2 separate regions of the Homo sapiens genome follow, and region 1 is linked to region 2. Evidence: promoter capture Hi-C in 16 types of primary human blood cells and fetal thymus (Javierre and others, 2016). All regions are on one chromosome and are shown on one strand. The core of a region is centred on a gene start or on the middle of the fragment in contact, and the rest is flanking DNA. Distances in the headings are between cores, read along the strand shown.

The links. The method cuts DNA at HindIII sites, captures the fragments that hold promoters and counts their contacts. A CHiCAGO score of 5 or more calls a contact.
Region 1: a contact is called between a fragment that was not itself captured here and the fragment with the promoter of MYO18B in region 2, in 1 of 17 cell types (total B cells). The highest score is 5.6, in total B cells.

What each region holds. Positions count from the first base shown.
Region 1 is chr22:25,488,568-25,493,113 of GRCh38, reverse strand. No RefSeq gene overlaps it. Among named protein-coding and RNA genes, the nearest start is that of MIR6817, 35 kb to the right of the region's middle. The HindIII fragment of the contact is 5,884 bases long and covers 1-4,546 here.
Region 2 is chr22:25,740,676-25,745,167 of GRCh38, reverse strand. MYO18B (myosin XVIIIB) reads right to left here and starts at 2,980. Exons shown (of 44, transcript NM_032608.7): 1 at 2,875-2,980. The HindIII fragment of the contact is 14,245 bases long and covers 1-4,492 here.

The sequences.
Region 1 (4,546 bases), core at 782-3,281, 250 kb after region 2:
GACTGGATGAGCACTCAGTTCCCTTCCAGCTACAGTGTGCCAGGACTCCTTCAATCAACCAACGGATATTCAATTGACAACCATCCCTGTACTGAGTGCTGGGGAAACAGTTCTGGTGAGGCAGATGTAGCCCCCTGCTCTTATGTAGCTTGCTGCTAGAAATGAGGACCACACACGAGCATGGGCACACACACAACATACACATAAATGTACCAAATTATCACAGCTGGTGGCCAACAGGATGAGGAACTGAATAAAGCAGGGGCTGAATTAAAGAACATCAGGAGGCCAGGCATGGTGGTTCACGCAGCGCTTTGGGAGACCAAGGCAGGAGACTCCTGACTCACTTGAACACAGGAGTTTGAGACTAGCCTGGGCAACACAGTGAGACTCTATCTCTAAAGAAATAAAATTAAATTTAAAAAATTAGCCAAGCATGGTGGTGTGCACCTGTACTCCCAGCTACTCAGGCCTGAGGAAGGAGGATCGCTTGAGCCCAGTAGGTTGAGGCTGCAGTGAGCTGAGATTGCACCACTGCACTATAACCTGGGTGACAGAGCAAGACCCTGTCTCAAAAAAACTTTTTAAAAGAACACCACCTTCAGAGAGAGGACTCACAGAAGGTCTCTTTGAGGGAGTGATATTTTGTTAAACAGATTTATTGAGTTATAATTCATATGCTGTAATAGTTACCCTTTTAAAGTGCAAAATTCAGTGGTTTTTAATATTTTTGCAAGGTTGTGCAATCATCACTACAATCTAATTTTAGAACATTTCATCACCCCCCAAAAAAGGCTTACACCTATTAGCAGTCACTCCCCATTCTCTCCTTCCCCCAAAGGCCCTGACAACCACTAATCTACTCTCTGTCTCTATGGATTTTCCTATTCTGGACATTTATTATGAATGGAATCATACCATATGTGGCCTTCTGAGCCTGACTTCTTTCACTTAACATAATACTTTCAAGGTTTATTCATATTGTAGCATGTATCAGAACATCAGTCCTGCCAGGTACGATGGCTCACACTTACAATCCTAGGACTTTGGGAGACAGAGTTGGGAGTTTGAGCCCAAGAGTTAAAGACTAGCCTGGACAGCAGAGCAAGACCCCCTCTCTGAAAAAAAAAAAGAGTAGCAGGGTGTGGTGGCACACACCTGTGGTCCCAGCTACTTGGGAGGCTGAGCTAGGATTGCTTGAGCCTGGGAGGTTAAGGCTACATTGAGCCATGGTCATGCCACTGCACTCCAGCCTGGGCAACAGAGCAAGACTCTGTCTCAGAAAGAGAGAAAGAGAGAAAGAGACAAAGAAAGAAGAAAAGAAAAGAAAAGAAAAGAAAAGGAAAGAAAGAAAGAAAGAAAAGAAAGAAAGTAAAAGAAAAGAAAGAAAGAGAAAGAAAGACAAAGAAAGAAAAAGAAAGAAAGAAAGAAAGAAAGAAAGAAAGAAAGAAAGACAGACAGACAGAAAGAAAGACAGAAAGAAAGAAAAGGATGTCAATCCTTTTTGATGGCCAAATAATACTGTGTTGCAAGGATATAGCACGTATATAGCATGTTTTGTGGAATCATCAATCAGTTGATGGACTCTAGGTTGTTTCCACTTTGGGATTATTATGAATAATGCTGCTATGAACACTTCTGTACAGGCTTTTGTGTGGACATGTTTGTATTTCTTGAGGGGGTGACATTTAACCTGAGATCTCAAGGGTAAGAAAGAATCAGTCATGTAAAAAGCTAGGCAAAATTCTTCTTGGCTGAGGGAACAGTACAGACAAAGGTCTGGAGATGGGCTACTATACATGTCTAGGGCCCTTTAGGTGGCTCGCAGGCTTTAGAGGAATTACAAGAGCATCTTTTTCAAGCTGCACAAATCCAATTTTCTGCCGAGGTGTGTCTAGTCTCTTCCTGAGTGTGCAATCTGAGTCAATTTAGTCTAAGGGTTTATTGTCAGCTCAGAGGAAAATTTCTTGGATTGAGCAACTTGGGGTGACTTCTGCAGGCCCCCACAATTTGCAGGAAGCCTGAGGAATCGTGGGTGGGAAAGTCGAATGGAGTGGTTCCAGGAGGCAGCATGCTTTGGAGGTAGAGGCATTCGAATGACTGACATGCATGCATTTCACTACCCCCAACTCCCATAAAACTCAGCCTGGTTGCCTGGCAGCAAATATCTTCTCTTGGCTTCTGTATTACCTTGGCTATCAGTGAGACTTTTCCCCTCAAAATGTCCTTGCATTTGTTTTTTAACTTGGCTTCCCTGGGATCAACCTGGCACTAGGAGCAAAGGGCTGGGCTGATACTTGCTTAGACGTCTGTGTGAGGGTCCTGGGAGGGTGGTTCACTGAGTGCTGCTACAGTGAGGGTATTGCAAGAGTATGTTGAGACAGCAATAAGAGGATAGATGCACCCACCTGGCAGTGGACGAAGACGGGGCTGAGAGAAGTTAGGATCCCAGAACCTAGATCAGGATCATACAGTCAAGAAGGAAAAATTTACCTCGTAAAAGTGAATTTGGGGGCTCTTTGAAGCAATCCTTAATCCAGTCAGTACACTCCTTTCCATAGTTGATACTGTTGGCTAACTCCTTCTGTCCACCCCCACCCCCAGCCAAGGGAGGCTGGGCTACAACCAAAACTCTGAACTTAGGGCCCCACAGACCTGAGTTCAAATCCTAACTCCTCAATTCCACTATGTTACTTTGCAAGAAGTGCTAACTGTTCTAAGTCTCAATTTGCTCATCATAAAATCCCATTACACAGCCTGTATTATGTAGGAATTGCTTTCAGCAACAGCAGTTCCAAATAATAATGGTATAAACAAGATATACCATGGTTATTTCCCTCATACAAAAGAAGTGTAGAAGGATGACATCCAGGGCAGTATAGAGTTTCCACACAAGACGAAGGCTCCTTGTGTCTTTCTGCTCTACCATTCTTAGCATCTCACCTTATGGTGCCTGATGGCTGCTGCAGCACCAGCCATCACATCTGCATTATAGACAGGAAAAAGGAAGGAATGGCAAAATTATTCTCACCTCTTGAGTTGAGTTTTCCTCTTTTAAGGAACTTATAAGCAATGTCTATCTAACAACTTATTTACTCCTATCCAACCCTCCTGCAAGGAAGCTAGGAAACATGCTTATATAGCCAGGGATATTGCTGAACTCAGCAGCAGAGCATGGCTGTTTTATTCAGGGAGAAGTGGAGGGTAGCAGGCAACTAAACATCTTCACAGCAAGATCTTAATTTAGTCACCTCCTCGCAGAAAGCTGCCCTGCCCACTCTATCCAAAATAGCACCCCTCACTCTAAACCACCACTCTGATATGTGTTGCATAGAATGTATCACTCTCTGAAATTATTTATCTATTAGTTTCCTTATTTAGGGATTGACTTCTCCCCTAGGATGTAAGCTCCATGAAAGAACAGCAACCATATCTGTCTTTATTCATCACTGGCTCAAGTTGGACAGCTGTGCAAATCTGTGGGTGACTGTTGAATAGTCCCTATCCCAAAGGGTGACTATGAGTCTTTAATGAGATGCTGAGGACGAAGCACTGAGCCCAGAGTCTGGCAAGAGAGGCTGGAACTGGCTAGTTGTTTCCTATGCCATTTCCCTTTTCTTCCTATCCACCTAGCCACAAGGCTGAGTTCCACCAGCCGAACGGAGGCAGGAGTGACATGGGTCACTTCCATGCCTCACCCCTGAGCCTCCTGGGACATCTTCCATGCACTTTCTTTCCTCATTGCCTAAGGATTCAGTAGAGGAACTTTGTAATATGATAAAAGCTAGAGTATAGAAGAAATGTGGGCTCCTCAATGACTACATGGAGCAGAAGTCTTCATCCACACCAGACTGGGATGGAAACAAGAAGAAAATTTTTATCATTTGAGCCACGAGTTTTGGGGATGTTTGTTACAGAAGCATTTCATTAGCCTTTGCTGGGTTGCAAACCACCCCACGATGTGCCTTAAGACAACATTGCCTTGTGGCTCCTGATGCTTTGGGTTGCTTTTGCAGTTCCTCCCCCAGTTTTGCCTGAGTTCATTCACAAGGCTGCATTTGGTTAAAGGATTGGTTGAGCTGAAGAGGCCAACTGCCAGTGTCTGGCATTTGGTGCTGGCTGTCTACTGGGCCATCTCCAGTTTTCTTCATGTGGCCTCTCATCCACACAGGTGAAACTGGGCTTCTACACAGCCTGGTGGAACCAAAGTTGCAAAACAGCAAAAGAAACTGCAGCAGCCTTTAAGACCAAGCCTTGGAAAATACCCAGCATCACTCATGCCACATTCTGTTGGCCAAAGCAAGTCATAAATTCAAGAGGGGAAAAGCAACAAAGTACATTGCAAAAGAGTGTGGACTCAGAGAGACAGACTCTTTGTGGGGTTATTATTATGTTAGTCTACCACAAAGAGTTAATGTAACAGAGTGTGTATGACTGGCATTTCAATTTCTGCACCTCCTCCTCTGCTCTCATTCCAGGCCCCTGTGACTCTTACTTCTGCAGAGCCCTCATATGCACACATTTGGTGGCAACAGTGAAGTCCGTG
Region 2 (4,492 bases), core at 1,731-4,230:
ACTGCACACCAGCCTGGGTGATAGAGCCAGCCCTTGTTTCAAAATAAAAATAAAATAAGACGCAATTTATTTTTGCTGCCCCCATTCAAATGAGAGCTGAGGTTTATCCTTTCCTTAAGATCTTGGTGCGGGGGGATAATATATATGGTGGATTTGACTATTATTTCTAACATAAGGGGCTCGTGGTTGCTCCCTGAACACCAGCCGTGACAGCAGGGGCTGATCTTGGCCCAATGCTCTTGCTGCAGGGCTGTGTGTCCTTGAACAAGTGGCTTTCCCTCTCTGTGCCTCAGCTGCACCATCTCTCAACAGGAGGGGTTGGATTTGGCAGCACTCTGGAGGGGAGGGGGATCCTCCCTGGTCTCAAACCCACCTCCTCCATTTTTCAGAAAATTTAATTTCATTTTGTTTATTTTTATTTTTATTTTTATTTTTGAGACGGAGTCTCTCTCTGTCCCCAGGCTGGAGTGCAATGGCGTGATCTCGGCTCACTGCAAGCTCCACCTCCCAGGTTCATGCCATTCTCCTGCCTCAGCCTCCCAAGTAGCTGGGACTACAGGCACCCACCACCACGCCCGGCTAATTTTTTTTTGTGTTTTTAGTAGAGACGGGGTTTCACCGTGTTAGCCAGGATGGTCTCGATCTCCTGACCTCGTGATCTGCCCACCTCGGCCTCCCAAAGTGCTGGGATTAAAGGCGTGAGCCCCCGCGCCCGGCCACTTTGTTTAAATATTAAAGATATGCCACACACCACAGCAGCTGACCATGTGCTTCAAATGGGCCATTCAGACAGTTGTTTGTATCTAGCAGGACCCAGTGAAGGGCCATCTCCCCATAGCCTTGTAGGCTCACAGCCCCAGGTCCCTATCTTTTGGCAGCTGGAAGTGGTTCTGCTCAGTTTGGGGGCCCTCCATTCCCACCTCAAAATGCCATAGAAAGTCTTGATCTTACCCCTGGAGGAACACCTGCCCAATAAAATCTTTGCGATAGTTAGACCCTAATAAAGTGCTGTGCACGTTTTCCATGTTTGTGAAACATGGAAATTCCATGAGTTTTGACAGGGCAGGTGCTGAGCAACAGCCTTCTGTGGTTTTGTTAGCTCAAGTGAAAGGAAAAGCTCTTCTCCAATTTGGGTGGGCACCAGAACCACCTGTGAGGTTTAAAATCTGTGGATTTCTGGGCCCCTTCCCCCAAGACTGTTCAAAAGGTCTAGGATGAACCCAGGAATCTGCATTTTAAAACAGCCCCCCGCCTCCTGCCCCACATGAGTCTGATGGGTAGGTCGTCAACGACCGTCACTTCAAGAAAAACCTTCCTGGATGCTGAATCCTAGGAAAGATCCCAGAGGTGGTCTAGCCCAACCCCCTCAGGTTTTAGAAGGAGAAACTAAGTTCCGACTGGGGAGAGTACTCATCCAAGGTTACAGAGCCCACACCAGGATATTCAAGGTGACCAGGCCTGGAGGCAGGTGACATCAAATATTTGTTGATTGGTAACATGCAGCCCTTCAAAAGCCAGGAGACCAGGAGACTCCCTCTCCTCCTCCTCTTCCTCCTTCTCCTCCCTCCTCCACCCACTTGGCCTTTTCTTTTGGCCTTTTCCTTTGCTATTATTCTTCTCCTCCTTCTTCTCTTTCTCCTCCTGCTTTTTTCCTCCTCCTCCTTCTCTTCTTCTCCTTCTCCTCCTCCTCTTCCTTCTTTTCTCTCTCTCCTCTCCACTATTATTTTCTAGAACTCATCCATAGCCTAAGAGTATATAGACCCCTCTCTTTTCTGCTCCCAAGGTACACACTGGACATGGTACCCAGGCATAGGAGAATACAACTTAGGTCAGCAATGGATACAGCACCCAAGGCCACCATTATCCTTGTTGGAGTCTAGAAGCCCTAGTGGGACACTCAGCCTCCATGAGCTGGTGCACTGAATGAGGCAGCATCTTTTTGGACAGCCACAAAGTGAAAGTAACAGCCTCGTCGTATTCCAGGCCCTACAGGATAGAAGCCCAGATCCCCACACTTGCGGGTTGAGGCCAGACTGGACAGCTTGGAGCCGACTGGGAGCCGACTGGGCTCCCCATTCCGGGCCTCCCCACTCCTGGCCTCCTCCATGGAAAAGCTGCAGGAAGGCAGCAGCCCAGAGGCCTGTAGCTGGTGAGGTCTTCTCCTCTCCTGGGAGAGAGCTCCATGTCAAAGCATAGCCCCCTTCTGCCCCACTATGGGGCCACTGGGACCTGTGAATCTTCTTCATTCAGAGAAATGCCTGCTATCCGGGGTGCCAGATAAGACACCTTCCCTCAGACAGAGCTCAAGGAAGGTGGCATGAAATTGAAACCTTCAGCCATGAACTTCCATTGCCCTTCCCCCAACACTCATACATGCTTAATTTGCAGTTTAAAAAAGAACATTAAAATTAACATTTCGACTCAACAGCGTTGTTAACACGAAAGGGGAAGCCTGGCTCTTCCCCGACCATAACTGAACACCAGTGAAGCAGAAATTACTGGTAGTTGAGGAAAAATATAAACCCTGACGTCTGCGGGCAAAGATTCACAGTGGAGATTAACTCATGATTCTAAACACATTTTTAAAAATTATTAGCGAACAGCTGGGGCCTGAGGAGAGTGATTCTTACGAATGTCCATTTGCCCCAGCATTTTGTTCTCAAATCCTTCCACCGAAACACTCTTGTTTTCAAAGTGAGCAGCACGGGCAACAGGCAAAGGAATCAGGCCTCGGAAGCTCTCAACACCAGAAAGGCCTAAAATAGACCAAAAGACCGGAGGCCTGCCACCGCAGCCCCCAGCAGCGCATTCCGGAAAATTAAAACTCGCCGATCCGCTCGCAAGGTGCCCGTCTAAAACCCAGCCCAATAGTACCTTCTGCAAAGAGGACACAGATCACAGGAACCACGACTGTCTAAGACGTCTCCCCGGGTGGCCGCGAAGGGACCCCACCGAGCCGGGAAAGCAGGAGCGAAGGAGCACCCTCTCCACACACACCGACACACATCCCTTCCCCTTACTGCCCCTCCCCGACCCGTCCTCCCCCCACCCTCCTTCTGGGCCAATGTGATAGCAGCAGCTGAGTCGACCAGTCATTTCTAAAATTAGCTTGTGAGCTCCAGGTCTGGCCAGGAGACGGCAGCCCGGGGTGGCCGTTGACCAGGCAGCAGAGACCATGGACATATTTGGTGGCCCCTGAGCAGGGAAGGGGACAGCTCTGGACACAAGCACATGCTCTCTCGTCATCCCTGTCCCAGGGCAGGGCCACACACCCACACTCCCGCCTCTGCCCACACAGATAACCAGAGGTTGCAGGAACTGTTTGAGGAGGAGAGCTGGCCGGTTCTACATTCCAGGCAGACTCTGGAAGAAAATAACTTGAATGAATGCTGGTGCGTCGTGGTAAACAACCAGTGCATGTAAACATACCTTATGCTTAGGTAGTGGTTATCGCATGCCACACACCGAGGGCTTTCATGAACTCACTTAATGTTCCCTATGAGGTAGGGTTTTTCCCCAGCCCCACTTTACAAGTGGGGAAATTGAGACACAAAAAGTTAACCAACTTGCCCAAGGCCATGGAGAGCCAGAATTCAAACCCAGGCTGTGCGGGCCGTAGAGGAAACAGACACAACAGCAAACTAGGGGCTATAAAAAAGTGCTTTGGGCCTGGCACGGTGGCTCACGTCTGTAATCCCGGCACTTTGGGAAGCCGAGGTGGGCATATCACGAGGTCAGGAGATTGAGACCATCCTGGCTAACACAGTGAAACCCCGTCTCTACTAAAAATACAAAAACAAAATTAGCCGGGCGTGGTGGTGGGCGCCTGTAGTCCCAGCTACAGGCGGAGCTTGCAGTAAGCCGAGATCGCGCCACTGCACTCCAGCCTGGGTGACAGAGAGAGACTCCATCTCAAAAAAAAAAAAAAAAATCAGCTGGGTGGGGTAGTGGTTGTCTGTGATCCCAGCTACTTGGGAGGCTGAGGCAGGAGAATTGCTTGAACCCAGGAGGCGGAGGTTGCAATGAGCTAAGGTCACGCCACTGCACTCTAGCCTAGGCGATAAGAGACTCTATCTCAAAAAAACAACAACAAAAAAAGTGCTTTGTCCACTGCCTAAAAGGAGCAAAGTACAGACTTCAATAAATTGGATAAACCATGCAGGTCCATGCAGCTAGCAAAGGGTAGAGTCATGACTCAAATCCAAGTCTTTCTGGTTCCAAAGACCGCAATCAGCCCAGCATGATACTGCTCCTGTGAGAATTGTTTCAATAATTGCTATGTGGTGCTGCTCCTCTTTCCCCAGAGCTCATCGAGCAATATTTTCCCAAAGTACTCACTTCTGCCGAGGTCTTGAAAATTAGCATTCAATCAGAAGTTCATTGAAACACTAAGGGAAGGCTGCTTAGAAAATGGCAGTCTAGGCCGGGTATGGTGGCTCACACCTGTAATCCCAGCACTTTGGGAGGCTAAGGCGGGTGGATCATTTGAGGT